Regions from separate parts of the Homo sapiens genome. Here regions 2, 3 and 4 are each linked to region 1. Evidence: promoter capture Hi-C in human tissues and cell types (Jung and others, 2019). All regions are on one chromosome and are shown on one strand. The core of a region is centred on a gene start or on the middle of the fragment in contact, and the rest is flanking DNA. Distances in the headings are between cores, read along the strand shown.

Evidence for each region. Contacts are between HindIII fragments. The study calls those that stand out against the background at their distance.
Region 2: the fragment with the promoter of KDM1A here is called in contact with the fragment with the promoter of ASAP3 in region 1 in 1 of the 25 tissues and cell types used here (heart right ventricle).
Region 3: a contact is called between the fragment with the promoter of LUZP1 here and the fragment with the promoter of ASAP3 in region 1, in 1 of the 25 tissues and cell types used here (pancreas).
Region 4: the fragment with the promoter of PITHD1 here is called in contact with the fragment with the promoter of ASAP3 in region 1 in 1 of the 25 tissues and cell types used here (mesendoderm cells).

The regions. Positions count from the first base shown.
Region 1 is chr1:23,481,937-23,486,032 of GRCh38, reverse strand. ASAP3 (ArfGAP with SH3 domain, ankyrin repeat and PH domain 3) reads left to right here and starts at 1,854. Exons shown (of 25, transcript NM_017707.4): 1 at 1,854-2,028. The coding sequence starts at 1,900. RefSeq lists an enhancer at 990-1,089 and silencers at 1,280-1,329, 1,340-1,449, 1,570-2,019. The HindIII fragment of the contact is 29,915 bases long and covers 1-4,096 here.
Region 2 is chr1:23,017,153-23,021,248 of GRCh38, reverse strand. It overlaps KDM1A (lysine demethylase 1A), which reads right to left and starts at 1,781. Exons shown (of 21, transcript NM_001009999.3): 1 at 1,302-1,781. The coding sequence starts at 1,652. RefSeq lists enhancers at 604-1,289, 1,290-1,977 and a silencer at 1,465-1,534. The HindIII fragment of the contact is 14,593 bases long and covers 1-4,096 here.
Region 3 is chr1:23,167,017-23,171,112 of GRCh38, reverse strand. It overlaps LUZP1 (leucine zipper protein 1), which reads left to right and starts at 2,257. Exons shown (of 4, transcript NM_001395462.2): 1 at 2,257-2,347. RefSeq lists enhancers at 1,363-1,412, 2,488-3,019, 3,020-3,551 and silencers at 2,058-2,117, 3,109-3,248. The HindIII fragment of the contact is 15,099 bases long and covers 1-2,465 here.
Region 4 is chr1:23,776,554-23,780,649 of GRCh38, reverse strand. It overlaps PITHD1 (PITH domain containing 1), which reads right to left and starts at 2,232. Exons shown (of 6, transcript NM_020362.5): 1 at 1,937-2,232; 2 at 1,169-1,212; 3 at 709-786. The coding sequence starts at 2,134. ELOA-AS1 (ELOA antisense RNA 1) reads left to right here and starts at 2,353. Exons shown (of 4, transcript NR_038280.1): 1 at 2,353-2,451. RefSeq lists enhancers at 103-1,302, 2,556-3,508 and silencers at 1,853-1,902, 1,993-2,302. The HindIII fragment of the contact is 12,544 bases long and covers 1-4,096 here.

The sequences.
Region 1 (4,096 bases), core at 605-3,104:
GCACTGCACTTCAGCCTGGGCGACAGAGTGAGACCTTGTCTCTAAAAATAAATAACAAGAAAAGTGCCTATTTGGTTTCAACAGGAGAAGTTGACCTTGAAAGAACTCTTGGAATAGTTGTCGTCTCTATCAGATGGTACACATTTTTTTCAACTTTTAATTCTTTTTTCTTTCTTTTCTTTTTCTTTTTCTTTTTTTTTTTTTTTGAGACAGGGTCTCACTTTGTCACCCAGGCTGGAGTGCAATGGCAGGATCTCAGCTCACTGCAAACTTGACCTCCCAGGTTTAAGCCATTTTCCTGCCTCAGCCCACCAAGTAGCTGGGACTACAGGCAAGAGCCACCACGCCGGGCTAATTTTTGTATATTTTGTAGAGACAAGGTTTCGCCATGTTGCTCAGGTTGGCCTTGAACTCCTGAACAATCCGCTCACCTCGGCTTCCCAAAGTGCTAAGATTACAGGCATGAGCCATCGCTCCCGTCAACTTTTAATTCTATTACACAGTAGTATATGGTCATTGTATAAAAGTTAGGATATACAGATTCACCAAAAGAAAAGAAAGTTACTCATAATGTCTTCAGCTAGTGCATATCTGTCTTCAGCTAGTGCATAAAATGTTGCTGGTGCAACATTTTAGTGCATATCTTTCCGGATTTTTTCTTTTCTTTTCTTTTCTGTGCGAGAAAAGAAAAGATTCTCTCAATCGCCGCCCTGTGGGGTAAAATACCATGAGGCCATTTTAAGAGGGGGAAATGCAGGCTTAGAGAAGCAAGCAATTTATCCAAAGTAACCAAGATTGGAATCTAGGTTCCTCTGACTCCAAAACCAATGTTCCTTGCTGCGGTGCTTTCCTAGCTTTTTACTTGGAGAACTTTTCCCCAGAGGACCTCAGGCTTCAGAACTAAACCTAAGTGGATTTCTATCCTGAACCCCATCCCTCATCCGCCCCAAAGGATGGTGAGCCAGATTAAGGGGTGAAAGGCAGGAGCAGGAAGAGTAAAGGCGTGGGTGCGATCTATGGTCGGGTAAGAGGGAACTAGTACACGCACGTGTTCGGTTCTTCGCAACATCACAATCAAGCGGGCATCAGGCTTCCCATTGTACAGATAAGGAAACTGAGGTTCCAGAAGAGAAGTAATTTTCCCCAAGTCACACAGCTAGCCAGGGGCCCCGATCCACACATCCCCGGGGCGGCGGGGGTTATCAGGAGGGAGTCTCCGGATGCCTGCAAAGCTGAGGCTGAGAGCTGGGCGTACGCAGCAAAGGAGGGGTGGGGCGATTCGGGGCGGAGCGAGGCAAGGAGATTGGGCGGGACTGGGGAGAGAGGAGGGAAGGGTGGCGGGGGGGTGGTAGGGCAGAAGGGGCGAGGTCATGGGGAACTCGGAACGAATCAGCAGAGGAGGGAGGAAGAGGGAGGGGGCTCTAAGACTCGACGCGGAGATGGAACAGCCTGGGCCGTGCAAGGGAGGAGGATTTGGAAGACCCAGAGCGGGATGAAACGGGACAGAGCCCTGAAGGGGCAGGGATGGGGGAAGGCGGAGGAGTTTCTACTGAGGCCAGGGGTGGGGCATCGCGCCAGGGGGCGGGGTCTGAGGCGGTGAGGGGCTGGGGGCGTGGCCTAGGGGGCCGGCGAGGGGCCGGGGAAGCGGCCTGACGCGGTGCGGGGCCGGGACCGGGGCCGGAGCCTGGACCTTGGCGGTGGAGGAAGGCGAGGAGCCGGGGGCGGGGCCGTCCCAGCTGAGGAGCGGAGAGCGGCTGGAGGGTCGGGGGCGGGGCGTGCGGAGGGGCGGGGCGTGTGGAGGCCGGGACGGCGCCCCCGGCCGGCGGTGAGGCCGGCTCAGCGCGGAGCAGCTCAGTGCCCCCCGCGCCCCGCTCCGGCAGCTCCACGCTCGCGCCCGCCATGCCGGAGCAGTTCAGCGTCGCCGAGTTCCTGGCCGTCACCGCGGAGGACCTCAGCTCCCCGGCTGGGGCCGCCGCCTTCGCCGCCAAGATGCCCCGGTACCGAGGGGCGGCGCTGGCGCGGGAGGAGGTGAGGGGGCCGAGGCGGGAGGGGTCGGGGGTCGGCGCCGGGCCTGGCCTTGACCTCCACAGGCGTGTCGCACCCGAGCTGCGATGGCCCTTCACCGCGCCCCGAAACCTGCCCCCTCCCTAGGTCTGGGAGGACCGAGCGCATCTCCAACAGCTGCGTCCTCACCGTCGAGGCGGGGGAAGGCCCGAGGGACCGTTTTGGGGGGCCTCGAGGTCTCTTCGATGACAAACTCCACAGGTCGGGGGACGTACCCCAAGTGCCCCGCGTGACCGCCTCATCACATATGTGTTTGCCTAGCGCCTTCCAGCCTCAGTTTGCGTTTTCATCTTCGGAGCCCCACAAGTGTGCCCCCCGAGTCACTCCCCTTCTGAGAGGCAGGCTTCCCGCCTCAGTCCTGAACTTTCTTCCCCCCGGCTGCAGAGAGGCCCCCTCCCGCTTGCGGCTGGTTCGGAGATTTGGCCCGCGTTTGTGGAATGAATGCGGATGGGAAGGCGCCAGGAGCCGGGGTTCACCTTGGCCGGGCTGTTGGCAAGTTTATCGTCTCCTCTCCCCTCCCCTCTCCTCTTTGTCTTTCCCAGCAAAGCGTCCCAGGCCTTTTCTTTCGGTCTTGCAGGCTGCCCCACCCCATTCCCATGCTCTTCGGAGTTCCTTCCATTCCTCTTCTCTGAACCTGCTGCAGCTTTCCGCAGCTCCTCTGCAAAGAATATTCTAGGACAGACACCCCGTGGCCTTGGTCCAACGGAGAATAATGTGTTTTTGCAGCTCCCCATCCAAAGGATGCCCTCAATTTGGGTGGCATTTTGGACCTCAGCAACGGCTCTAGCCTTCCACCCTTCACCTTAAGTGTACTAGGCACCCACTGCGTGGCAGATACAAAGCTCAGTAGTTCATAACACCCTGCGCCAGTGTCAGGAAATCTGTCCTCTTCTCTCTTGTCAGGGTGACCCTCCATCTCGGAGTCTGTTTGTATCACTTTGTAAGGGTGATAGAGGATTGTGGAAGGAGCATCGACTTTGGGGAAGGCAGACCTTTTTTCTTTCCTTTTTTTTTTTTGAGACGGAGTCTCGCTGTGTCGCCCAGGCTGGAGTGCAGTGACGCGATCTTGGCTCAATGCAAACTCCGCCTCCCAGGTTCACACCATTCTCCTGCCTCAGCCTCCCGAGTAGCTGGGACTACAGGCTCCCGCCACTACGCCTGGCTAATTTTTTTTTTGTATTTTTAGTAGAGACGGGGTTTCACCGTGTTAGCCAGGATGGTCTCGATCTCCTGACCTCATGATCCGCCCGTCTCGGCCTCCCAAAGTGCTGGGATTACAGGCGTGAGCCACCGCGCCGGCCAAGGCAGACCTTTTTTCAAACGCTGGCTCTGCAGTTTGCCATTTGGGTGAACGTGGGCATGTGACCTGTCCTGTCATCTGTGGAATGGGGGTAATAATGTGTACCTCACATGAGACAATGCATATAAAGCATGCATCTTTTTTTTGGAGACAGAGTCTTGCTCTGTCTCCCAGGCTGGAGTACAGTGGTGCGATCTCAGCTGACTGCAATCTCTGCCTCCCGGGTTCAAGCAATTCTCATTCCTCAGCCTCCCAAGCAGCTGGAATTACAGGCATGCTCCACCACACCCGGCTAATATTTGTATTTTTAGTAGAGACAGGGTTTCACCATGTTGGTCAGGCTGTTCTTGAACTCCTGAGCTCAGGCAGTCTATCCGCCTTGGCCTCTCAAAGTACTAGGATTATAGGTGTGAGCCGCTGCACTGGCCCATGCCTCTTGATAAATGGAATGATTATCGTCAGATTAATCGGCAGATCTCTTTAGACAGTGATTGGGTCTCTTTTGTCTTCATTTGTCTCACAGAGCCTCACCTTGTCTCATTTGTCTCACGGAGCCTAGCCTACTACTTTGCACATAGTAGGGGTACATGTTTTATTAAAATAAGAAGCAGCCGGTCAGATTTGGCTTCCTTCCTTGGGCAGAGTCCACTGCCTGTGGATGTGGGTTATATTTTACTGTGGGGCTCACAGGGAAACACTGCTGTCCAGCCCATCCTTTGGAGAGCTTCCTGA
Region 2 (4,096 bases), core at 532-3,031, 460 kb after region 1:
TCTAACCCATGCTTTGGTAAAAGCTCCAGAAAGTCTTGCCTCCAAAACGGTCTTTCATCCAGCACTGGTTATACTTTAGAGAGTTGGCTCAAGTAGGCAGATAAATATGAGAGCTCTCAGACTGGGTAATACTCATCTCAAGAAGCTCCCCATACACACTGACTTGGTATTCCCACTTAAAAATTATGTAGACAATTTTTTCAGGCATAAATTATATAATCTGCAAATTTTTATTTAAATGTTGACTACACGCACATATATATCCAGGTTGTTTTTTCCAACTAGACCGACCATTAAATCTCCAGAAAAGGCCCAAGTCTAAAGTCTGCGCCCTAATACTGCCCCAGTGCCCTGCACACAGTGTCCCATGTGGTCCTTTGTTTCAAGGGCTGATGATACCCTGTAACAACATGAATGTGGGAATTACATTCCACTTCCATCACTTATTTAGCTTTGTGACTTTAGGCAAGTTGCTTAAATTGTGTGCCTCAGTTTACTCATTCCTAAAATAGGGCTAGCAATACCTGCCCGTTGATATTTAACAACAACAAAAAAAAGTAATGTTGGTGACACGCTGAATATAGCATCTAGGACACAGACATTTGAGGCAGTCACTGTCTGTATATACTGTTTGGAGTCAAATCTTTTCTTCCCATATATTTGCATTTTGACTATTATTTGCTCTCTCAATCAGCAGCTTCCTCATCTGCAAAATTCTGCGCCAAAAGATCGCTGAGAGGATTTTAAAAAAGAAAAAAAAAAAGACTAGAACTCCTACCACACAGCAGGGTTTTGCTCAAACAAAAACAAAAGCAAAAACGACCCTTTCTTTTCATCTCCCCGGCTAAGGCGATTTCTTCAGCATCAACCTACAGCCCCCTCGTGCACCCAGCTGAAACGCCATCAATATCGCCCAACAGCTTCCAGACCTATCTGTGAACAAACAAGTGAGGTCTCCAAGAACGCCAACCGTAACCCCACGTCAGGGAGCCATTTTCCAGTCAAGAAAATGAAAAGGTGTGCAAGAAAGACCTAAGGAATAAAATACCCCTCCCAGCAATCATCGATGCCCCTTCCCACGTCGCTCGGGACCCAGCACAAAGACCGCAGTCAACACCGGCAAAGACTTTTCCTTTCTCACCCCACCCGTCCAGCTAGAGGGGACGTGGCGTGCGCAGCGATACAAGGGGAGGTCTGAGTGGTCGCAGGGCCCAAGACCCGGCGGCGGCGGGGGAGGGCGGAGAAGCCTCGGGGAAGCTCGGCACCAGGCGGTGTCGTTTGAGGGAAGGGTCGAGCCTTACCTTCGCCCGCTTGCGCCGGCTGGTCCGACGCCCCTCCGGAGTCTCTGCTATTCCAGTTTCCATGGGGGTCGCAGACCCAGGCACGACAGTAGGGCCGGCCTGAGGCCCTGCGGACCCCGGCGGTTCCGCCAGGCCCCCGGGGGGCGAGGCCCGCGGAGGCTCTTTCTTGCGGGGTGTGCGCTCCCCCACCGCCCCCGGCCCGACCTCGGCTGGGCCCGACAGGCCCGCGGGCTGCGCGGCCACCTCAGACCCGTTCTCGGAGCCGCCTGCTGTCCCAGGGCCAGCCTCCGTCCCGGTTGCTGCCGCTGCAGCCGCCGCCGCCGCGGCTGCCGCCTTCTTCCCAGATAACATCTCGGGCCGCCGGGCCGCCGACGGCCGTAGGGGCCGCTCGCTCTGTCGCTCCGTGGGTCCGAAAAGCCTTGCCTCGCCTCGCTTCACGCTGCCCGCGCGCCGCCAACCGCCGTCGCGTACGCACGCGCCAAGCGCGCTCCCGCCGCGCCGGGACAAAAAGGGTCGGAGACACCCACGAGCCCCGCCCCTCCCCCGCAGCCATAGAGCGGCGTTCTCGCGGCTAGAGTGGCACCGCAGCAAAGAACGTGTAGCTTGCCTAGAGCGTCTCCCCGGCGTTTGGAGTGGGACCTGGCACAGTCCGTGGTCTTAGGGCTTCTGGGCCAGACTAAACCTCCGAAGGTGACCATTTCCTCCAGGGACTTTCGGGTTTGCATGCGTGCGTTCGTTCATTCACTCACCCAATTATTCGTTAATTCAACCAGTATTTATTAATGCTTGCCTACTACGTAACAAGGGTTACATTATGAAGTTCTAGCTTTCAAAGAACTTACAGTCTAATGGGGGAAAACACTGAAATATGTTGGTAGAGCGTCTTACTTATTCATAATTGCCCTGCTTGGACTGGGCAAAAAACTTGGAGAGCACAGCAGTTTCGATGGTAGTAAAATGGAGACAAGTTACGAAATCCAGGTTTGAGTCCAGACGGAATTGCTCTTGTCTCCAAGCCTTTGTTCATGCTTTTCCTTCTGGCTGGACCCCAACCTCATTCGCACTCCATGTCTTGCGCTTCTCCCATCCCCCATGTCCCCCATCCCCCATGTCCCCCATCCTTCATGTCCCCCATCCCCATCCACATAACACCTCTTTCTACTCCAGGTTAATTCTTTCTAATAATGATAGTAGCGGTTTATTCTTTTAATTTTTCGAGGAATCCCTTGCTAACCCAAAACTGGAACAGGTCGTGTACTTTTAGCATGCGTGTACTTATTACACAAACAATTGTCTTTTTAATAGTCTGTCTCTTCGAAGTGAAATTGTCAAAAAATTATTCCATTTACATGAAGTTCAAGAACTGGTAAAACTAATCTCCAGTAATAGGCTCCAATCAGCCCTTGCCTGAGATGGGGGTCGGGGGTTGACTGCAAAAGAACAAGAAAGAACTTGCTGGGGGTGATGGAAATGTTTTATATCTTGATTAGGGTGATGGTTACATAGGTGTATATATTTGTCAAAACTCTATGAACTATCCATGTAAAACAGGTATGTTTTATGTAACTGTAGTACTTCAGTAAAGTTGTTTTTTGTAAAAAACTAAGCAAACAGACAAAAAGGCAATCAAATGTAGAAAGGAAAAAAAGTAAAAGCTATGCAAGAAAGAAAATGTATCCGAGTGGCGTGGCACGCACTTGTAGTACCAGCTGCTCGAGAGACTGAGGTGGGAGAATCACTTGAGCCTAGGAGTTCATTCAAGTCCAGCCTGAGCAACATAGTGAAACTGCGTTTCTAAAAAAAAAGAGAAAAGAAAAAGAAAGAAAATATAATCATAGTACAACATATGGCTCAGCTGTGAACTGTATTAACATGACCATAAAAACGTAAGCAGTGAATATTGTTTTATTTATTTTTTCTGTTCTTTTGTTTGTTTGTTTCTTCTTTTTTTTTTTGAGACAGAGTCTTGCTCTGTTGCCCAGGCTGGAGTGCAGGGGTGCAATCTTGACTCAATGCAACCTCTGCCTCCCAAGTTCAAGCGATTCTCCTGCCTCAGCCTCCCCAGTAGCTGGGATTACAGGCGTGTGCCACCATGCCTGGCTAATTTTTGTATTTTTAGTAGAAACAGGGTTTCGCCATGTTGGCTAGGCTTGTCTCCAACTCCTGACCTCAAGTGATCCTCCCACCTCGGCCTCCCAAAGTGCAGGGATTACAGGTGTGAGCCACCGCGCCCCGCCGAGCAGTGAATATTGTTTTAACCAAAGTGATAGAATTACATTAAGAGAATGGAGAAAAAAGAAAGTTTGTGGGGAGAAAGATGAGAAGGTTTTAAGGATTTAGGGAAGTAGGGAGGTTGTTGGGGGAGGTGCTGCTTGGGAGCTAAATTATTTTTCACCATAAAAATATAATACATAATGTTGGCCAGGCGCGGTGGCTCATGCCTGTAATCCCAGCACTTTGGGAGGCCGAGGCGGGCAGATCACGAGGTCAGGAGATCAAGACCGTCGTGGCTAACACGGTGAAACCCCGTCTCTACTAAAAATACAAAAAAACTGGCCGGGCATGGTGGCGGGCGCCTGTAGTCCCAGCTACTCGGAGGCCGAGGCAGGAGAATGGCGTGAACCCAGGAGGCGGAGGTAGCAGTGAGCCGAGATCGCGCCGCTGCACTCCAGCCTGGGCGACAGAGCGAGACTCCGTCTCAAAAAAAGTATATATATATATATATATATATATATATATATATATATATATATATATATATATATATATAAAATACATAATGTCAAAATTGAGAA
Region 3 (4,096 bases), core at 1,008-3,507, 320 kb after region 1:
TATATATATATATTTTTTTTTTTTGAGACAGGGTCTCGATCTGTCACCAGGCTGTAGTGCGGTGGCATTATCATGGCTTATTGCAGCCTCCACCTCCCAGGTTCAAGGGATCCTCCCACCACAGCCTCCTGAGTAGCTGAGACTGCACGGGCACCACCAGGCCTGGCTAATTTTTAGTATTTTTTGTAAAGACGGGGTTTTGCCATGTTGCCCAGGCTGGTCTCAAACTCCTGGACTCAAGTGATCCATCCCCCTGGACTCAAGTGATCCTCCCAAAGTGGTGGGATTGCAGGCATGAGCAACCGCGCCTGGTCAATATAATACTACTGAAAATAAGAATGACAGGGGCCTGATGTGGTGGCTCACGTCTGTAATCCTAGCACTTACGGAGGCCAAGGTGAGTGGATCACCTGAGGTCAGGAGTTCGAGACCAGCGTGGCCAACATGGTGAAACACCGTCTCTACTAAAAATACAAAAATTAGCCAGGTGTGGTGGCAAGTGCCGGTAATCCCAGCTACTTGGGAGGCTGAGGCAGGAGAATCTCTTGAACCTGGAAGGCAGAGGTTGCAGTGAACTGAGATCGTGCCACTGCACTCCAGCCTGGGCGACAAGAGAGAAAATTCGTCTCAAAAAAAAAAAAAAAAAAAAAGAAAGAAAAAGAAAATAAGAATGACAATCATATTGTTCATATTGTTTGTGGAACACTGTGCCTGATGTTTTCCATACAGTATCTTAGGTAATTTTAAAACAAACACCACAAGACTATATTATTATCCCCATTTTATAGATGAGAAGACAGGCTCAGAGATGGCTATTATGACCCCAGAACATATGATCCCAGGGTTTTCTGGCATCAGAGCTTGAGCTCCACAAACATGTGTGGGTTCTGACCTCCAGGAAGTGCTAAGAAACAAATGGGAGGTCAGTTCTTTATAAGTTGTAGTGTTCATGCCCACGTGAGGGTTAAACACAATGTTATTGGTTATTCAGAACAGGGAGGATTGCTTTCTGGCTGGGAGAAGCTGGGAGGTGAGACAGCAGGGGAAGAGCTTCAGCAAAGGGTCAAATGTGGGAAAGCAGTGGGTGTGCTAAGAGAAGTTTGGATAAACTTTGTGTGTGTGTGTGTGTGTGTGTGTGTGTAAAGGTAGGAAGTGATCATACCAGGCCAGGGCTTTGGCCTTTATTCCATAGGCAATAAAGAGCTTACACAAGAGATGTCTCAAGAGACCAACCATGCTGCTGTAGTCAGAGAGGAAGCAGCCCTCAGCCCATCTGTGTCCTGGCTTGTGAATGCTGCTGCGTGCCAGCGTGTGGGAGGGCATCCGCAGCGAGAGCAGTCTCTGGCTGTGTCCTGTACTATGCTGGGTGTGGGTCTTGGGCTGTCTTTGAAGCCTTCCTCCTGGCTTCTCAGGGCACTAGGTGCCTTTTAGATAGTAGACTTAAAGGAAGTATGTCATAGAAGTATGGGAGGGGATTTTGAGATCATCTGGTTATTCCCCCTTCCCATTTTAAAGAAGATGAAAATCGGGAACATAGATGGGAAAGTACTTGTCTAGCATCACACAAAGAATTAATAGCACAGTGGGGGACGGGAACCCATGCCTCCCGAGTCTGAGCTGAGTTCCTTCTCTGCATTTGCAGAGTAATAGAAATAGGATTTGTTGAGTGATTATTCCATATCAGGTTCTAGGCTAAGCACCTTTCCATTGATTATCTCATTTAATCCTCACAACCCTACTGAGAGTGTCCCGCTTTTTTCTTTTTCTTTTGAGACAGGGTCTCACTCTGTCACCCACGCCGGAGTGCAGTGGCACGATCACGGCTCACTGCAGCCTCGACCTCCCTCGGCTCAAGCGATCCTCCTACTTTAGCTTACCGGCGGGCGCCACCACTCCCGGCTAATTTTTGTATTTTTTATAGAGATGGGGTTTCGCCATGTTGCCCAGGCTGGTCTCGAACTTCTGAGTTTAAGCGATCCGTCCGCCTCAGCCTCCCAAAGTTCTGGGATTACAGACTTGAGCCACCACGCGGGCCGAAAGTGTCCCTCCTGAAATCGAGAAGTCTTGTCTTCCATTTCGATTTCCCAGGGCGCCTAGCACAGGACCCAGCTACGGAGGCAATAAAAACTTGGTGGAGTCTAAGTCCTGGGAAGGGAAAAAAAGGACGGAGGGGGCGGGGCCTACAGACAACCCCGCCCATCACAAAGACCCCGCCTTCCAGAACGCTGACGTCACAATTTGGCCCCGCCCCTCATTGTCAGTCCCGCGGAGCCAGAGGAGGCGCCGGTCGCTGGCAGCTGAGCGGCGGAACCCTTCGCTGGCGGGAGCGCGGTTCGGGGCCGCAGAGGTGAGGGTCCGTGAGGCGGCGGCGGCGGGAGCGCGGCGCGGGGAGGGGAGGGCGGCGGGGTTGGGAGGCCGGTCCCGGGTGAGGTCGGGGCACCCGCGGCCACGGGGCAGAAGAAACCGCGGGCGCAGCCGAGGAGAGATGGGGTGTGGAGTTGGGGGAGAGTTGGAATGGATTTTGGAGGAAGGGCTCAGGAGGAGACCTTTTGGGGCGAGACCCAGCACATGTTTGTGGAGTTGGAGGAAGAGACTCTGAGGAGATTTTTCCTCGGGAGGGGGAGGGAAGGTTCTGAGGAGACTTCTTGGTGGGAGCGAGACTCTGAGGAGAAATGTTTGGGGCAGAGACGCGGAGGAGACATTTTCGAGGGGGCGGCGAAGAGTTTCGGGGGTAGAGTTTGGGGTTGGGGGAGGGGGCGCGGGCCGACAGGGGCGGGGGGCGACGAGGCGGCCGTGGAGGGGGCTGCGCGGGGCCCGGCGGGCACCGGAGGAAGGAAGTGATCAGACAGGAAGGGCCCGGGAGCTGCAGCAGCAGGAGGAGGAGGGCGGTTTGGGAGCGCGTCGGGCCGGCGTGCGGGGCCAGCTGCGGGCGCGGGGCGCGGGCCGCGGGCCGGGCGGGGAGGGGTCCCGCGGCCGCCGCAGCTGTCGGCCGCGCCGGCCCGCGTCCCGGGCGCTCTGCTGGTCTCGCAGCCAGACCGCTGGGCCGGGAAGGAATTCGAGGCATTCGCTTTGTTTAAGTTGCCAGTAGACAGTCCTTAGGACTAATTAATGGTGGAATCTGCAGGGGGACGCCGGCGAGCGGGGCCGGGGCCTCCCCCCGCCCGCCGCGGTGAACTTTCCGCAGCGCGGGGCCCGCCTCCCGGCGCACCCCCGGCCCCCGCCCAGCCGCCCGGGCAGGGAAGGAGCCATGGCTTCCCGGAGCGCAGGAATGAAGTGCGGTTTCTGGGGCTGGTGGCCTCTGGCTGCGGAGCCTGCCTGCAGGGAACCTGGCGACCCGCAGCGGCCGCGCTGGGGCTTCGGAGCCCGGTTTAGAGCTCTTGGAGGTGGCTGCGGTTTCTGTGCATAACCTTGGAGGAGCCTCTGTGAGCCGAGAAAGACCATCTTGCTTTGGAGCATCTGTTTCTTCATCGCGTCAACCCCTTTCCTAACACTGCAGAGCTTGTTGTGGCTTGTTTCGGGAATGCCGAGGCCAGTGCTCACCCTTGCGGGTGGGAGAGGGGAAGAGAGTAGGCACCCCCAAAACCCCTGTAGTGTGATTTCCAGAAGGCCAGACTGCCTGCAGCTCCACCGTCGCACCTTCACTGACTTGAATGACCTTGGGAGAAGGATTGCGCTGCTGAGCCCTTGGTGCCTTATCTGTCGTTGGAGGAGAAAATACTCTCTGGACCTCCCTGCCTTTTGGGGATGTTTTGAGGGGTGGGGTTTGCTCAGGGTATTTCTTTTACAGACGGCTGCAGTTCTGGCCTAAGGAGCTGGACTGGTGTCAGAGCCGGGAGAATTCAGATCACCTAATAAGATTTGACTACCTCAAATTAGGGAGGGAGGGGTTTGGATTTTAGGAGGACATTTCTTTTTGGGGAATCTGGAAGGTGTGTTCCAGATTGCCTTCTGTCACCTTGTTTGCAACTTTGGTAGTATTCATGTGGTTAAATTGAATTACCCCCATAGAAAATTCTTCTTTTGTCAGAAATAATTGTTTTGCTCAGAATTCCCCTGGGGGCAGATTAAGGTTTTGCTCAATTTACTCCTAGAAGAA
Region 4 (4,096 bases), core at 983-3,482, 290 kb before region 1:
TCAGCCTCCCAAAGTGCTGGGATTACAAGTGTAAGCCACTGTGCCCAGCCTATATATCATCTTTTATTGGTTTTGTGAGATAAGCTACTGCACCCGGACTGAATTTTTTAAATGTAAAGTTCTTCTTATATGTTTCTCCAGCACTCAGAAAGCAGTTTTCCCCTTCTTTTAGGAAGGCTGTTCTGGAATAAGGTAAGTTGTCAAAAAGGGTACTAGCTCTGGTGGCAAAAGATTCAGTGTTGCAAGAGGTATACACAACTTTGCTAACTAAATGCCACGCAAAGTCAGGTGGAGCAATTCCATGTCAACAAAACACATAAGATCATTACTGTATGAAATAGCAAGGAAAAATGTTGAAGCTAACCCCTAGAATCCATAAAGATCATATGAGATCTGCAGCTAGTTATTAAGAAAACTGCAGAGTCATCAACAAGTGACATTTACACAATGCTCTCTGAATGAATCATGTCATAGTAAGCACTTTGAAATATGAGACACGCTGTTGGGCCTAAAGATGCTTAATCTAAAAAAGTCATTAATTCAGGAAGAAATATATGTATTCCAATGCAGAATGAGAACAGGACCAAGATATTTTAAAAGGGGAAATATTAAACCCGGTAAGAAGAAAATGATACTATTCTGGAATAAAATGTTACCAGAAAAAGAGAATTAGGAGCTCCTTTGAGGGCCTAAGCCTTTGCCACTTACAGTCTCATCTCAGAGGGGTGTGAGTCATCATCCTCTCCCATTATAATGATGCCTTTGAGCTTGACATTGCCCGTAAATCTGCCAGAATGCAAAAGAGAAGGTTGTCAAACCTGAGTTTGAATACCTGTTTAGTTGTGTGACCCTGGGCAAGACCCTTCCCCTGTATGGGCTTCAGTTTACTCATCTGTCAACTTGTACTAGATAATTTCTAAGATCCTGTCTACCTCTAGCATTCTACAATTCTAAGAAATCTACCTCAATTTCTCAGTTATTGTTCTACAAATACATCTGTTTCCAGTCTGCACCAAGAAAGCTATGATGCTTTCCTCCTCAAACCCACCAAAGTAATTTATCCCATTTCTAGAAGCAAATGTGTGCTCTTGACACCAGTGAATGAATCCATCTGAGGCAACTGGGTACAGCCTATTTAGCCTGAGGTAGGCACCAAGGAGATACTTACGGAATATTAAACAGAAGCTCTTCATCTGCATCACTTTCAACAAACTGGAGGGGATGGGGAGGGGGGAGGAGAAAGCAACAAATATTTGCTGAGAGCCTACAATTTCAGGCATCTCCCACCCTGCTCTACAACTGGGGTGCAATGGGAAGAGTCACTCTCCCTTGGTTTTCCAAGACTTATTAACTTGAAGCTAACCAGTCTTATCCAGTGTCATAACAGCCACAGGCCACCCAACTGGAAGGTTCTTAACAAAAAGCCCATGAATGAATTTCCAGGGTCGAAGAGCCTTCTGAAGTGTGAACTGAAAGGCAGGTGTTTATGTGCATTTTTCTGAGAAGAAGGTCCACTGCTTTCAAACAGATAGCAAAGGGGCCTGCGACCCCACAATGTAAAGAACATTTGCTCTATATGGGAACCACCTTTCATCTCCCTAGGCTCATCTTCACCAGGTAATATGATGAGGCAGCCATTAGCACCAATGGTCCAACGGCCCTCACGACCATCCTCTCTAGCCCACACAGCCCTGGAATAGAGCGTTAGGCTGTGTAGCTTGACAAAACTGTCCCCGTTCCCTCTAGGCCTCAGTTTCCCTATATGCAAAATGGGGAGACAACGCTGCTCGCCTCCCAAAGAGCTGGCAGGAGACAGGCACGGAAAAGCGCTTGGCAACCAGGCTGTCGTTATTCTTAACATCAGAAATGAGTAGACCGACGGCCCGAGGCCCCACACGCACCCTGCCCCGCCCGCCCCAAGCCCCAGGCGGCCCACCTTGGAGCGGTCGGTCCGCTCCTCCCACGGCTTGAAGACGCCGCGGCCGCTGCCCTCGCGGCTCTCGTTAAGGCATTGCAGCCGCTCCAGGTCGATGCGCAGGTACAGGCCGTAGGCCAGGCCGCGCTGCTCGGGCGGCTCCTCCCGTTCGGCGGCGCAGCGGCAGCCACCCCCGCCGTGGCTGTGACCGTGCGACATGGCAACGCCGCCACCTGCGCGTCCTCTCGGCCCCACCGCCGCGCTCGCTCGGCTCGGCTCGCCTCAGACCAGCTCCGCGCCGTTCAGCTCCGGCAACTAAGCGCGCCGCGCCTGCCGCGTCGTAAAAAGCGCCGCTGCGCGGCGCATGCGCGTGGGGAGAAGGCGGGGGGGCGGGGGGGGTGGGGTCGAGCGGAACTGACGTAGGACGCGCGCCTCCCAGGTGCCAGAGTTCGTATATGACTCCAGTCCTGGCGCTGGATGCTGCTGCTGTTCCAGCTTCCTAGGTGTGGAAACTGAAGGACCAAGAGATTAAACAGGTGTGCTGAGTAAACTCACAGGCTGAGATTCGAATTATCCTCCCCCGACGAGGATGGAGCCTTCGCTGTCTTCCTTGATCGCCACGTTTCTTTGCGAGCCGATGAAGGAAAGCGTGAGGAATGATAAGGCCCTGGAGACTGGAGAACGCGAGCTTATCGCTGTCTCACATGCGCACGGCTTAGACGTTGAGAGCTCACAGGCCCACTTGCATAACCACTTTCTTGATAGCGGGGTTACAGCTTGAGAGCATGGGGCTTTGTGCACGGCCAGACCTAAAGACTACTCCTGGGTCTGCTACTGGCCATTGTGACACCTTAAGTCATTTCCCCTATTCTGAGACTCCGTTTCCCCGTCTGTAAGGTGGAAAGAATAGTATCTGTTTCATAGGATCACAGTGAGTATTAAATGAAATAATGCAATTAAAGAACTCAGCAGGCCGGGCGCGGTGGCTCACGCCTGTAATCCCAGCACTTTGGGAGGCCGAGGCGGGCGGATCACGAGGTCAAAAGATCGAGACCATCCTAGCCAACATGATGAAACCCCGTCTCTACTAAAAATACAAAAATTAGCTAGGCGTGGTGGCGCGAGCCTGTAGTCCCAGCTACTCGGGAGGCTGAAGCAGGAGAATCGCTTGAACCCGGGAGGCAGAGGTTGCAGTGAGCCGACATCGCGCCACTGCACTCCAGCCTGGCGACAGAGCAAGACTCTGTCTCAAAAAGAAAAAAAAAGAAAAAACTCAGCAAATGGCTGACACATGATGGGCATTCAGTAGCCGATGGTTATTACGGTCAAATCCAACCACAGCAACTTACTAGCTGCGTGGCCTTGGGCAAGTGACTTGATCTTCTGAGACTCAGTTTACCCCCTGTGAAGTGAAGGGATTGGACTAGATGATCTCTGCGTTTCCTCCCCCATGTGATATTTCAAAGTACTTTTTTTCGAACAGCTGGTTGTGGCCTGTCAATAGGTTTTAAAATCCGTTTATAGAGAATTGTGATCAACATTTAAAAAAAAAATAGAATACAAAAAAAAAAAAACCCAGAATGTATCACACATTTCAAGTCTCAATTGATGAAACTTTTGTTTCAGTTTTGAGTTTGTATTCAGACACAATATGATGTGTTTTTCATATTGTGGGTTGAGATCAAAATAATTAAAAGTCACTGTTTAGAGGTGAAATAATCTTGTTTTCAGGATAGAATGTTTTCCTACTCCCTGGTGGGGAAAAGACAGGATACAGAAAGAGAGTTATGGGATACCCTGGCTACCCTCTTCCCTTCACATCTGGCTCTGGAGTGCTCAGTGGGGCTGGTGAAGTATAGACCAAAATATCCATTTTTTCAAGTTCCATTCAGAAATATTTTCTGGGCCACATGCAGTGCCTCATGCCTGTAATCTCAGCACTTTTGGGAGGCCAAGGTGGGAGGATCACTTGAGCCCAGGAGTTTGAGACTAGCCTGGGCAACATAGGGAGACCCCATCTTTACAAAAATAATTAAAAATATTAGCCCAGCATGGTGGCTCATGCCTGTGGTCCCAGCTATTTGGGAGGCTGAAGTGGAAGGATCTCCTGAGCCTGGGAGGGTGAGGCTGTAGTGAGCTGTAATCATACCACTGCACTCCAACCTGGGTGTCAGAGCAAGA